2 separate regions of the Homo sapiens genome follow, and region 2 is linked to region 1. Evidence: promoter capture Hi-C in 16 types of primary human blood cells and fetal thymus (Javierre and others, 2016). All regions are on one chromosome and are shown on one strand. The core of a region is centred on a gene start or on the middle of the fragment in contact, and the rest is flanking DNA. Distances in the headings are between cores, read along the strand shown. Region 1 holds the start of LINC01996 (long intergenic non-protein coding RNA 1996). Region 2 overlaps MINK1 (misshapen like kinase 1).

Region 1 (6,887 bases), core at 394-2,893:
TGTGTCTTCACCTCATGCAGCCGGCTCTCAACACCAGTGCCTGTGTGCCTTTGTGGGGTCCCACGTGTCCCTTGGGTGGTATATTGGGGGGTGGGCAGGAGATCCCTGGGGGTGTCAGGAGGAACATGGCAGAGCCTGCAGGTGGGTGAGCAGTATTCTCCATGGATTGGTTGGTCCAGGCTGCAGTCTTGCCCTCTCTCTCGGATTCTCCCACTCTGGAAACCATTCCCTTGCTAGCTCTCTCGTCTCTTGTACGCTTGGGGAGGTGAGACCTATTATTAACAGGACACATAACTGAAGGTTAGGGTTTCAAACCTGAAGCCAATCTGGGAACACAAGGGCTCTGTAAAAAGCATGGCTATATGTTACTGAGTCCTCGCACACGTTAAATGGAGCTCTCCCGAGTTGCAGACATGGCCGTACGCTCTGCGCATGAAACAGAGCAGATCCTGCCAGAATGCAGAACAATTTCTTTTAAACTTTAGGAATGGTGTCCCTCATGTCTCACATTCAGAATGAGACAGACTCGAGTTTTTAAAGTTGGTTCCATGATGTTCTTGTCTGTGGTCTTTGTTGGGGGTGGGGGGTGAGAGATCATAAGACAGTTTGTGAGTTTCAAACATGATTTTACCTCTAAGACAAAGCATGAGAAGAAAATCCAGGAAGGTCTCACAATCCTAAGATATTTGGAAACCACCGTTTTAGGTCGGGGTTACGTGAATGTTCCCCATTTGTGAGACCCAATTTCATCTTGCTTTCTACCCTGGTATGGAGGAATTCACATCTTTTTTCCCCTTTCCCGAGAGAATTATTTCTTGGAGCTGCTCATAAGAGTCTTCTGTTTTTCCAGATAGATTCCTTCACCTGGATTTTGTTAAACTTATTAAGTCGGACCAAATTGGCTTGTGTGTTTCCCTGAAGTGAACGTTTCACCAGAGCCACGATGGGTTTTAGCTTTTCTGATAGCTGATGGATATTTTTCAAGGCAAGCGAGAGCCTATAAGCACTTTCTGAATATGACAGAGCACATGCTGGTGAGAGGAGACCGCACAGGCCAGGTGTTTGGGGAACAGTTTGTTAAAGCCAATGAATTTCGCAAATGTGCTAGATGATGAAGAGTTCTCAGCTTTCCCGGTTGCAGTGATCAGAACTCTGTAACTGGAGACCGGTGTGAGAGAAGATTTTATTCTCTGCCATCATGACCGGGTCTATACGACTGCAGGCAATTGCACAGAAGACTAGAAATGCTGATTCAGTTGGTCAGTTTGGGGTGGGACATCTTACCAGTCCAGCAGAACCAACTCTGGCTTGGGTTTTTCTAGCTGGTGACAGGTGACCAACTCATTCTGATGAGTTGATTACGCCTGTGGACGTGGCCCACTTGATTTATTTTTTCTCCCTCTGTTAGCTGTGCTCTCCCAACCACCTGATAAATGGACCCAGTATGATTATTTCTGAGCCATCTTATCTCTCTCACTTTTAAAGCTTGGATTGGGTTTGCTTTTAGAGCTTTTGATCTCTTATCTCTTGGTTCTTGGACTTGCTTTGATACCAAACAGCCCTCATAGTCTTTTGAAAGAACACCTTAAAAATTCCTAGGCTGGGCGCGGTGGCTCATGCCTGTAGTCCTAGCACTTTGGGAGGCCGAGACAGGACAAATATTTGAGCTCTGGAGTTTGAGACCAGCCTGGGCAACAGAGTGAGACTCTGTCTCTACAGAAAGTTTTAAAATTAGCCAGGTGTAGTGACACATGCTTGTAGTCCCCATTACTTGGAAGGCCAAGGCGGGAGGATGGCTTGAGCCTGGGAGGTCAAGGCATCAGTGAGCGATGGTTGTGCCACTGCCTGGAGATAGAGTGAGACCCTGTCTCAAAAAAGAAAGAAAGAAAGAAAGAAAAATCCCTAAGACCTGACCTGCCTACTCCCTAGAAAGCACCAAATAAGGAAAAGCACTCCGGAAGAATGAAGCTAAGAAGGCTGTGCTCTCTGAGGCATCCGGGCAGCCTTCACTGGAGGGACAAGGTCCAGGTAGGTGGGATGACAAGCTGGGAAGGGGCCCTGAACCAGAGGCAGGTGATGTGGGTGGTGGCACCAGAGAGACACCAGACAGTGTTACCGTAGGTCTTGACTGTCCACCTTCATTCCTGAAGTTGATCCAGCTTTCTTACTGTCACGTAGGTGGATATAAAATCGATCTTTAGGGTTCTGATTTTTTGTTTGTTTTTGTTTTTTTTGAGACGGAGTCTCACTCTGTCACCCAGGCTGGAGTGCAGTGGCACAATCTTGGCTCACTGCAACCTCCACCTCCCAGGTTCAAGCGATTCTCGTGCCTCAGCCTCCTGTGTAGCTGGATGTACAGGCGCCCGCCACCATGCCAGGCTAATTTTTGTATTTTTAGTACAGACGGGGTTTCACCATGTTGGTCAGGCTGGTCTCGAACTCCTGACCTCAAGTGATCCGCCTGCCTTGGCCTCCCAAAGTGCTGGGATTACAGGCATGAGCCACTGCGCCCGGCCGGGGATCTGAGTTTTAATCACTCCCAGTGCAAGCGTCCTTATCTGGTTTGCAGACTGAGTGGCATTTGTGCTGCCGAGGCTCTTCCTGGCTTGCCCTCCTCTCTGGCTGTTGCTTTCCCTCCTCTGTTCATTAGAGCCTCCTCTCCTCGGCTTGTTGCTCCTATGTGCTGTGACCTAAGCTCTATGCTCCTTCTTCTACATTAGGGTTCATAGCCCAGGACTTTGGGGAGTCTGTGGATGTCCAAATTGAGTGTTTTACCTCAATTTGGTTGAGGTTGCAGTGAGCCGAGATTGAGCCATTGCACTCCAGCCTGGGCAACAAGAGTGAAACTCTGTCTCAAAAAATTGTATTTCTGGCCGGGCGCGGTGGCTCACGCCTGTAATCCCAGCACTTTGGGAGGCCGAGGCAGACGAATCACGAGGTCAGGGGATCGAGACCATCCTGGCTAGTACGGTGAAACCCCCGTCTCTACTAAAAATACAAAAAATTAGCTGGGCGTGGTGGCGGGCGCCTGTAGTCCCAGCTACTCAGGAGGCTGAGGCAGGAGAATGGCGTGAACCCGGGAGGAGCTTGCAGTGAGCGGAGATCGTGCCACTGCACTCCAGCCTGGGCGACAGAGCGAGACTCCATCTCAAAAAAAAAAAAAACATATATTTCTTTGATGTTTACTGGCTGGCATTCTTCTGTAAAGAAAGTCTTTCCCTCCCTCCAACTCAGTTTTTGAGTGTTCCTGGAGGCCCATGGATTTTTTTTTTTAATTCAATGTGTTGTAATCGCTTACTGTTATAATTTTTTTTGATGCTCAAACTGTTCAGAGGGAGAAGACAGCTCTTGTGTCTTTTTGCCATATTCCCATGGTTCTTTGAGCATTTTATTTTCTTTTACTTTTTTGAGACAGAGTCTCACTCTGTTGCCCAGGCTGGAGTGCAGTGGCGTGATCTCAGCTCACTACAACCTCCACCTCCCAGGTTCAAGCGATTCTCGTGCCTCAGCCTCCTGAGTAGCTGGAACTACAGGCATAAGCCACCACGCCTGGCTAATTTTTATATTTTTAGTAGAGACGGGGTTTCACCATGTTGGCCAGGCTGGTCTTGAACTCCTGACCTCAGGTGATCTGCCCACCTCGGCCTCCCAAAGTGCTGGGATTACAGGCGTGAGCCACCGTGCCCGGCCTTTGGGCACATTCTTGCTTTCTGGCACAAGGCGCTCCAGACTGACCTTTTACTTTCCTTGCCCCAACTGTGGAATCAGTCATTTATTCAGATCCTGGTCTCTTGTGGTGGAGAATTTTTATTTCCCAATGAAGGTCCAGGGACTTGGTGTGCCGGTTTTGCTGGGTGTCCTGCTTCTAGGCCCTTGCAGTGAACAGAGCTAAGATGTTTTAGAAGAGCCTGCAAGTATACTGAAACCTCCAGCTTCAATTCAGCACCACAGGCCTCATCTGTACATTAGTCCCTATTTTTCCTTTTTTCAAACCATCCTGATTCCCAACAATTTCAATACACTTACGGATTTCTTCTGTACCGCAATGTCCAAATTCTGAAACAGTAGTTTCCGAATTCTTAAACTGATGTCACTGCCAACAACAAACCCACCAAGTAAGGTTTGGGATTTCCCTTCAGCCCCTTTCCCCACCTTTGGGTATATTCCCTAAGGGTGCACAGGGTGCTGGATTCAAAAGTTACTTGAGGCTGGGCACGGTGGCTCACGCCTGTAATCCCAGCACTCTGGGAGGCCGAGGCAGGCGGATCACTTGAGGCCAGGAGTTCAAGACCAGCCTGGCCAACATAGCGAAACCCTGTCTCTACTAAAAATACAAAAATTAGCCGGGCATGGTGGTACATGCCTGTAATCCCAGCTACTAGGGAGGCTGAGGCAGGAGAATTGCTTGAACCAGGACCTGGGAGGCGGAGGTTGCAGTGAGCCAAGACCACGCCACTGCACTCCAGCACACGAAGTGACAGAGTGAGACCCTGTTTCAAAAAAAAAAAAAAAGAAATAAAAGTTACTTGAATTATTTTCTCTTGGAAACCATGTTATGAATTTGATATGCATGAGGTTGACTTGATTCTGTTTGTATTCAATTAAAGGTTTGTTTCCATCATTTTTATTTTCTTTTTTTGACTATGTAAATACTTCACCTAGGTCAAAAGTCAAAACTCTACAAAAAGGTATATTCCCATTCCCATTCCTCCATCTGTTCCCACCCTTAGTCTCTGTTTTCTCCTCCTTGCCTGTCTTCTCCCTTCCTCCTTTTCTTTTTACCTTCCTTCCACAACAATAAGCAGGTATATATCTATCATTTCACAGAGATCCTTCTCGTCCTTTTTTTCTTTTTCTTTTTCTTTTTTTGAGATGGAGACTTGCTCTGGAGTGCAGTGGTGCAATCTCAGCTCACTGCAACCTCCACCTCTTAGGTTCAAGCGATTCTCCTGCCTCAGCCTCCCAAGTAGCTGGGACCACAGACACCCGCCACCACGCCTGGCTAATTTTTGTATTTTTGATAGAGACGGGGTTTCACCATGTTGGCCAGGCTGGTCTCGAACTCCTGACCTCAGATGATCCGCCTGCCTTGGCCTCCCAGGGAAGTGCTGGGATTACAGGTGTGAGCCACTGCGCCCGGCTGATCCTCCTCCTCTTTAAAAAAGCCCTGCATAGGCCAGGCACGGTGGCTCATGATGCCTGTAATCTTAGCACTTTGGGAGGCCGAGGTGGGTGGATTAACTGAGCTCAGGAGTTCGAAACCACTCTGGGTAACACGGTGAAACCCCGTCTCTACTAAAATACAAAAAATTAGCTGGGTGTGGCAGTGTGCGCCTGTAATCCCAGCTACTTGGGAGGCTGAGACAGGAGAGTCGCTTGAACCCTGGAGGCGAAGGTTGCAGTGAGCCGAGATAGCACCATTGCACTCCAGCCTGGGCAACAGAGCAAGACTCCATCTCAAAAAAAAAAATGCCTGTATAGCCCTCCACTGTGCTAGCTGATCACTTGTTCAGCCCATCTCCGAGGCAGGGATATCTTGGGTTTTTTTCCAGTATTTTGCTATTACAAACAGGACTGCGGTGAGCAGCCTTGGGTGTATGCTGTTTTGCATTTGTGAGGGTGGATCTTCAGGGTTAGTTCCCAGGATTGAGATTGCTGGGTTCAAGGGTAAATGCATATTTTGTTAGACATTGCCCAAATCTCCTCTGTTTTGCAGTCTCACCAGACACATGAGAATGCTTGCTTTTCCCCAACAGCGAGTGCTGTCAGGTTTTTGAATTTTTAGGAGACAGATGGTTTCAGTGTAGTTTAAATGTGAATTTCTCTTATGAGTGAAGATGAGCATATTTTCATGTTTACAGGAGACTTGTATATCTTGTTCTAAGAACTCTTCTGTCTTTATTCATTTTTCTATTTTTTCACTTGATTTTTTCTTTTAAGACAAAGTTTCGCTCTCGTCACCCAGGCTGGAGTGCAATGGCACGATCTTAGCTCACCGCAACCTCCACCTCCCGGGTTCAAGCAATTCTCCTGCCTCAGCCTCCTGAGTAGCTGGGATTACAGGCATGCGCCACCACACCCGGCTAATTTTGGTACTTTTTTGGTAGAGACGGGGTTTCTCCATGTTGGCCAGGCTGGTCTCGAACTCCCGACCTCAGGTGATCCACCCGCCTTGGCCTCCCAAAGTGCTGGGATTACAGGCGTGAGCCACTGTGTCTGGCTTTTTCACTTGATTTTTAAGAACGTGTGTGTGTGTGCGCGCATGTGTGTGTGTGTCAGAGTCTCACTCCCATTGCCCAGGCTGGAGTGCAGTGGCATGATCTCGGCTCTCAGCCTCTTCCTCCTGGTTTCAAGCGGTTCTCCTGCCTCGGCCTCCCAAGTAGCTGGGATTACAGGTGTGCACCACCACGCCCAGCTAATTTTTGTATTTTCTGTAGAGACGGGGTTTCACCATGTTGGCCAAGCTGGTCTCAAACTCCTGACCTCAAGTGATCCGCCTGCCTCAGCCTCCCAAAGTGTTGGGATTGTAGGCGTGAGCCACCACACCCAGCCAATAACTTTTTCTATATTAGAAAGATTTCTGGGCTGGGCACAGTGACTCACATCTGTAATCTCAGCAATTTGGGAGGCCAAGCTGGGAGGATTGCTTGAGTCCAGGAGTTCAAGACCAGCCTGGGCAACATAGTGAGACCCCCCCCATCTCTATAAAAAGTTTAAAAATTAGCCAAGCATAGTGGTATGCACCTGTAGTCCTAGCTACTCTGGAGGCTGAGGCAGAAGGATTGCTTCAGCCCGGGAGGGCAAGGCTGCAGTGAGCTGTAATTGCCCATTGCACTCCAGCCTGGGTAACAAAGTGAGACCCTGTCTCAAAAAAATAAATAAATAAA
Region 2 (7,546 bases), core at 2,163-4,662, 250 kb after region 1:
TCAACCTCTGCCTCCAGGGCTCAAGCCATTCTCATGCCTCAGCCTCCCGAGTAGCTGGAACTATAGGCACGCACCACCATGCCCAGCTAATTTTTTGTATTTTTAGTAGAGATGGGGTTTCACCATGTTGCCCCGTATGGTCTCAAACTCCTGAGCTCAGGCAATCCGCCAGCCTTGGCATCCCAAAGTGCTGCGATTATAGGGGTGAGCCACCGCGCCCAGCCAAGATGCTCTTTCTTACCACACACACACCCTCCTATTTCTTTTCTTATGCACACACACAGACACACACACAGCCTTTAGCTACTCCTAATTGAAGGGTGCCTAAGACACCACCCTTCTGTCAGAATACTTGCCCCTACTTCCAAATCTCTGCCAGTACTGTATCCTTGTGGAACTTAACTTAAATTGTTGGGGAGACCCCATCTGTCCTTTGTCTCTCAGGCCCTTATCCCTTCCCCTGTGGTGGCTTCAGAATATCTCCTACAGATGGGGTTTAGGGTTAGTAATCTGGTGGTACTGGGGCTAAGGGATAGGTTTTAAAGCTCCATTTGCATAGCAGTCACTATTTTAACACTTAGATTGTTGGTGTTTTGGGGTGTCTTTAAGGGAGCTGATGAATTTATGGGAGGCTAAATATCCCCTCCCCCACTGGGTATAGCCACTGCCTTTGCCCCCCTCTTCCTCTCTGTGTGGGCCTTCTGGATTACAGGAAGAGCTCAGGAAAACAGGCCTATTGTTTTCATCTGGGAGGGGGGAGGGCCTCCCAGGCCAGCTCAGGCTCACTGTCCTTTGAACTGGTACCCGATAAACAGAGGCTCCAAGACGCTGGCAGCCTTGTTCTTCCAAGGCAAGGGAGTTATTTGGCTTGAGACTTTATTCTGTTCTGCCAGCTCTTGTTGGTTCCCTGTTTATTTTTTTTTAATTTAAATTTAATTTTTTTTTTTTTTTGAGACGAGGTCTTGCTCTGTTGCCCAGGCTGGAGTGCAGTGGTGCAGTCTCGGCTCACTGCAACCTCCGCCTCCCAGTCTCAAGTGATTCTCATGCCTTACCCTCCTGAGTAGCTGGGATTACAGGCATGCACTACCATGCCCAGCTAATTTTTGTATTTGTAATAGAGATGGGGTTTCACCATGTTGGCCAGACTTGGTTCCCTCTTTAGACCACAAGTTCCCATTCTCTTTCCCTAGTGTCCTATGAAATTCTCTTCTCCCGCTTCCGCATCTGTTTTTCTCTATCACAGGTTTCTCAGAATCTTTCTGGCTGCTGTATAGTCAGTCCTGGTATGGTTAGTAACAGCAGGAAGCCTGCCTTTTTGGAAGTACAAGGAGCTAGGAAAGGAGGGGTCTCTCCCAGACTAGAGAGGTCTTCTCCCCTAGCCTCACAGCTAGCTGACTCTGCCTTGTCCTCCCAACACCCGGGATTCCCCCCGGCCCCTCCCAACACCAGGCACCCGGGGCAGCCCCACCTCCTGCCCTGTTTCCTGTCAGGGGTAGGATGGCACCTTGCCTGGGTCTGGGAACAGCACTGGCTCTAGCAGCAGGACCTGCCGGGGCATATCTGAGTGAATAATCATTGCTGGGCTCGAAGCACAGGAGAGACCAGTCCTTCCTTGTCTCCACTGGGCTGTTTAGTGCTTCTTTCCCAAGGACTTCCATCCCTTCCCCAGGCTTTATGGTTCCAGTTCTTCTACCATTCTGGAAGCTCCCTAGAATCTCCTGGAATGCTTAATGGACCTTTCCAGCACCGAAATTCAAGAATTATGACTCATCGGTCAGCAGAAAAGTGAGGATACCTTTTCCTAACCTACCTGCTTCCCCTGCAGTTTCCTCACAATCTTACTCTTTATATTTTAGCATATGTAACTTCTCAGGATGTTAATTCTGTTCTCTCTGTGTTGGTGTCTGAGCACCCAGAAGGTAGAGCCAGGGGCACTTATAAACCAGGAGCATTATTTGACAGGCACTTAAGAAAGACACTGGCTACGTAATCCCAGCACTTTGGGAGGCTGAGGCGGATGGATCACATGAGGTCAGGAGTTCGAGACCAGCCTGGCCAACATGGTGAAACCCTGTCTCTACTAAAAATACAAAAATTAGCTGGGTGTGGTTGCACACGCCTGTAATCCCAGCTACCTGGGAGGCTGAGGCAGGAGAATCGCTTGAACTTGGGAGGCGGAGGTTGCAGTGAGCCTAGATTTTGCCATTGCACTCCAGCCTGGGTGACAAGAGCGAAACTCCATCTCAAAAAAAAAAAAAAAAAAAAAAAAAAAGATGCTGGCTAATATTGATAATAACAGTTTGCATTTGCTAAAGTACTTAAAAAAAAAACCTTTACCCCTCAAAGGGTTTCATCTACATGCAAAACCAACACCGTAGGAACTACTTTCCGCATGCGGAGCCGGGTACAGAGGGAAGGGGCGCGTCCGGGAACTACTTGCCGCATGCGGAGCGGGGTACAGAGGGAAGGGGCGCGTCCGGGAACTACTGGCCCCATGCGGAGCGGGGTACAGGGGGAAGGGTCGCGTCCGGGAACTACTTGCCGCATGCGGAGCGGGGTACAGAGGGAAGGGGCATGTCGTTAGAGGAGCTACTGTTAGTGGAATGAGGACGGGTAGCCAGAGTTCTCATCTGCCAGCTCCAGGCCACTTCCAAGAAATGTGACCCCCAAGCCTCTGGTGCTTGCCTCCTTCTGCTCATTCAGTCGTCCACCTCTTTCATTCTGGATTCCACCATGAGTCCAGGCCTCTCCTGCATTTCTAGATTTCCACGTGCTGATTGTGAGGGACTGACGGGGGTTTCACCTTCTCTCCTTTTCCTGGCCCCACAGCCTTGGCTCACGCTTCCTAGGCTCTGAGTTTCAGTTCGTGTCCCAGCCTCCCAACCGGACAGCGTTCTGGAAACAGTTTATGCATGAACTCTTGCATTTTCTCTTGGGAAATAATCAAACCCTTTGTTTCTAATCTCCTCTCAGTCTGTACTACTACTACTACACTAACATGACTTTGGTTTTGGGGAAAGGAAAGGAAAATGTCTGTTGATGCTGGGCCCCAGGCAGCACCGTGAGAGCTGCAACGGGCTCACATTTGCCCCTAGTTTTTCCTCCAGGTAGGAGCTGTGGGAGGAGTCCAGGGAGTCCCTTGAGGCTGAGCAGAGCAAAGAAGCAAGGGCTCAAGGCTGGTGTGTGCCTGGTTCTCCCCTGGTCAGTTCTAGGGAGCAGAGACCGTGGTGCAGGTGGAAGGACCACGGCGCTGTGTCCCTTAACTGTACAGCACCAGTGCGCGCCACGTGCTGGGGAGATGCCGAAGCCTTAGGGAGCAACTTCGGGAAGCTTTTGAAGCTGGGGAAACTAATACACTTGAAATAGTTAAAGGGGGATTTAAGGCAGAGGAGCAGAGTCTGAGGGGACAGCTCGTGCCCTCCCCTTGCCTGCCTCAGGCCACCAGCTTTGTGCCTCTTCTCTCCCTCCAGCCCTTGTTCCTCAGCTTCTTCTGAAAAGCTTTCCTTGAGCAAACCCAGCTCCGCCTTGCTCTGTCTGGCGTTGAATCATTAAATCAGCGACGATTTGGTGACCTCGTATATACTCAGAACATACCTGGAGCTGTGAGGGGAACAGGAGCAAACCACAGGCAGCTCCCTAGTGAGGCGAGTGCAGTGTCACCAGGACGTGCTGCTTGGGGCCAGCCTGGTGTGGCCAGTGCCTTGCATTGTATGCGGAGCTGCGAGAGACGAGACATCTACCAAGAGTTTCTGCGTTAACATCACTGTTGGCTCTTCATAGCTGAGCAAAGCAATATGTACAATTATACATCGTAAACAACGCAGGGCACAGTGCCAGGCGACATCTATTTCGACCCACATGAGGCGCTCTGTCTGTTATTCCAGAGCCCCACCTTTCAATAATTGAGTCCAACACTTGTATGGTATCTTCTTGAGCCTCTCCATCAACCAAAGGTTTTTATTTATTTATTTTTTTGAGTTGGAGTCTCACTCTGTTGCCCAAGGTGGATTGCAGTGGCACGATCTCAGTTTACTGTAACCTCCGCCTCCTGGGTTCAAGCGATTCTCCTGCCCCAGCCTCCCTAGTAGCTGAGATTACAGGCACGTGCCACCACACCCAGATACTTTCTGTATTTTTAGTAGAGACAGAGTTTCACCATGTTGGCCAGGCTGGTCTTGAACTCCTGACCTCAGGTAATCCACTCGCCTCAGCCTCCCAAGGTGCTGGGATTACAGGGTGAGCCACCATGCCCGGCCCAACCAAAGATTTTACACAATTTTATTATATGTAAAATGTGAGGAGATAAGACATGCTTAGTAATAGAAGCTCTAGTGAGTGAGAGAAAGCAGCCGCAGACTGTTACCCCACATGCTCACTATGCGACAATAGTCGTTTTGTGTATGTTATAGATTCAGAGCTGCACAGATAAAGTACTGCTGTTTTCATTCGGGCACCCATCTCAGTGTGAGGCCGCCTAATTCTCATTCCATGTATACCCAAGTACCACCTAGAAATGGCTCCTGCCCTTAATGAGCTTCTGTTCTACTTGTGGAGATGAGGCTTGGTCCTGTGAAAGGTTAAATAGAGATGTTGTGGTCTGGCTTGTTGGGTTGGAAGGAATCTGCTCTAGCTAAGTCAAATAAAGGGAGAGATGCAGCAGAGACTCGAGCCGGCTACATGCATTCAAACCCTGGCTCTGCCACTGAAATAGCTGTTTGACCTTGGCAAGTTATTTACCTTCCCTGAGCCTGTTTCCTCCTCTGTAAAGTGAGAATAATAATAATATCTACCTCATGGAGTTAGGTGAGGATTAAATTAGTTGGTGTGTGGGCCAGGCACGGTGGCTCACGCCTGTAATCCCAGCACTTTGGGAGGCCGAGACGGGTGGATCACCTGAGGTCAGGAGTTCAAGACCAGCCAGGCCAACATGGCGAAACCCCGTCTCTACTAAAAATACAAAAACTAGCCTGGCGTGGTGGCGGGCACCTGTAATCCTAGCTACTGGGAGGCTGAGGCAGGAGAACTGCTTGAATCCAGGAAGTGGAGGTTGCAGTGAGCCAAGATTGCGCCACTGCACTCCAGCCTGGGTGACAGAGTGAGAATCCATCTCAAAAAAAAAAAAAGAAAAATTAGTTGGTGTGTGTAAAACACTTAGCACAGTGCCAGGCTGTCAATATTATTTTTTATTTAAAGTCAAGACCCTTCTTGGAAGGGCGTGTGGCTCATGCCTGTAATTCTAGCACTTTGTGTGTCCGAGGCAGCAGGATTGCTTGAGCCCAGGAGTTCAATACCAGCCTGGGCAACACAGTGAGATCCCATCTCTACAAAAAAGGTTTTAAAAAGTAGCTGGGCATGATGGTGCATGCCCGTGGTTCCAGCTACTCAGGAAGCTGAGGTGGGAGGACTGCTTGAACCCAAGAGGTTGAAGCTGCAGTGGGCTGCAATTGCACCACTGCACTCCAGCCTGGGCAACATTGCAAGACCCTGCCTCACAAAACAAAAACCAAAAAAAATCCTTCTCACTTCACATGCCAAGGGAAAAGAAAAGAGAAAAGAAAAAGAATCTTGTTCGAACCTAGGCACCTGAATGGCAGCCCAGACAGTTCCTTGGAACTGAAACCATAGGGTGGTTCTGGGTTAATGGTAACAGCGGGGGATAGCTAGAGTCAGTTGGTCACTCTCCCGCTTCTGTCTCCCCCTGTAGTTCCCATGCCCTCTCCTTCCATGTCTGCTGTGCTCTCTGTGTACAGTGTGGCCACTCTGCCCACTCATGGCCTCTGCTTTCCTTTACCTGAGATAATAATGGGCTCTCCAGCCTTGACTCTCCATGCACTCTTTGGCATCTTCCCTTTTATTTGAAATGGCTGAAGGGGAAGTTTGCCTTAGGTTACCTTTTTTCCTTCAATCTTGGACTGGCTCCCTGGGGTCAGGAACTCATGTCTTAAACTGTTGCTGGGGCTAGAAAGGGGAGGAAATGGTGGAAAACCCGGTCCTTTAGGCAACAGGAGCTATGAGCCAGGCAAAGCACACTGCAGGCCTTGAGGTCAGATTTTTCAGTCAAATCTTGGCTCTACCACTTCCTAGCCTGGGCAAGTGTTTAATTGTTGTAAACTTTTTCACCTGTGAAATGAGTATAACAATAGTACCCACTTCAAAGTTTGTCATGTGAGATTATACTTCTAAAGTGCTCGGCAGTACCAGGAACAAATGAAATGCTCAAAAATTGCTAGCTGTCTCATTATTATTATTATTATTATTATTTTTGAGACGGAGTCTCACTCTGTCACCCAGGCTGGAGTGCGGTGGCGCAATCTCGGCTCACTGCAACCTTCGCCTCCCGGGTTCAAGAGATTCTCCTGCCTCAGCCTCCCAAGTAGCTGGATTACACGTGTGTGCCACCACGCCCAGCTAATTTTTGTATTTTTAGTAGAGACGGGGTTTCACCATGTTGGTCAGGCTGCTCTCAAACTTCTGACCTCAAATGATCCGCCTGCCTCGGCCTCCCAAAGTGCTGGGATTATAGGAGTGAGCCACCTTGCCCGGCCTAGCTGTGTCATTATTAAAGGGCTATGGGGGCCAGGTGCAGTGGCTCATGCCTGTAATCCCGGCACTTTGGGAGGCTGAGGTGGGTGGATCACCTGAGGTCGGGTGTTCGAGACCAGCCTGACCGACATGGAGAAACCCCGTCTCTACTAAAAATACAAAATTAGCCAGGCGTGGTGGCGCATGCCTGTAATCCCAGCTACTCGGGAGGCTGAGGCAGGAGAATCGCTTGAACCTGGGAGGCGGAGGTTGCAGTGAGCCGAAATCACACCCTTGCACTCCAGCCTGGGCAACAAGAGCAAAACTCTGTCTCAAAAAGAATAAATAATTAATTAATTAAATAAAGGGCTATGGGGGCCGGGCCTGGTGGCTCATGCCTGTAATCCCAGTACTTTGGGAGGCCGAGGTGGAGTGGATCACCTGAGGTTAGGAGTTCGAGACCAGCCTGGCCAACATGGTGAAACCCCATCTCTACTAAAAATACAAAAATTAGCCGGGCATGGTGGTGGGTGCCTGTAATCCCAGCTACTGGGGAGGCTGAGGCAGGAGAATCGCTTGAACCCGGGAGATAGATGTTGCAGTGAGCCGAGATCGCACCATTGAACTCCAGCCTAGGCGACAAGAGTGAGACTCCATCTCAAAAAAAAGAGCTATGGGGAGAGTGGACAATGACAGTGATCTCTGAGATGGCCGATATGGGCAAGCTCCTAAAGTGGTAAAGATCAGGACCGGAAGGATGGGGCAGATTACAGCACTCATTGTTTAGAGGAGGGTACTGGAAAGCCGGTTAGACCACCGCAGCTTGAATATGTCTTCTTCAAAAGAACCTTTTCCTGGCTCCCCAGCCTCGGTCAGGTGTGCTCTCTTGGCACCCTGCACTTCACAGCACATAAGACAGACCAGAGCTCTTTCCACGACCAAAACCTTCCTTCCTCCTTTTTGGTCCAAGAGACACACTTGGCAGCAGCAGGAGGAGTGTCACTCCATACGTTTTTATTTTTAT

Evidence for each region. The method cuts DNA at HindIII sites, captures the fragments that hold promoters and counts their contacts. A CHiCAGO score of 5 or more calls a contact.
Region 2: a fragment that was not itself captured here is called in contact with the fragment with the promoter of LINC01996 in region 1 in 1 of 17 cell types (erythroblasts); the score reaches 5.3 in erythroblasts.

The regions. Positions count from the first base shown.
Region 1 is chr17:4,608,806-4,615,692 of GRCh38, forward strand. LINC01996 (long intergenic non-protein coding RNA 1996) reads left to right here and starts at 1,644. Exons shown (of 2, transcript NR_145431.1): 1 at 1,644-2,028. The HindIII fragment of the contact is 12,447 bases long and covers 1,484-6,887 here.
Region 2 is chr17:4,857,544-4,865,089 of GRCh38, forward strand. All of the region lies in intron 1 of MINK1 (misshapen like kinase 1), which reads left to right. Among named protein-coding and RNA genes, the nearest start is that of MINK1, 28 kb to the left of the region's middle. RefSeq lists a silencer at 2,311-2,605. The HindIII fragment of the contact is 168 bases long and covers 3,329-3,496 here.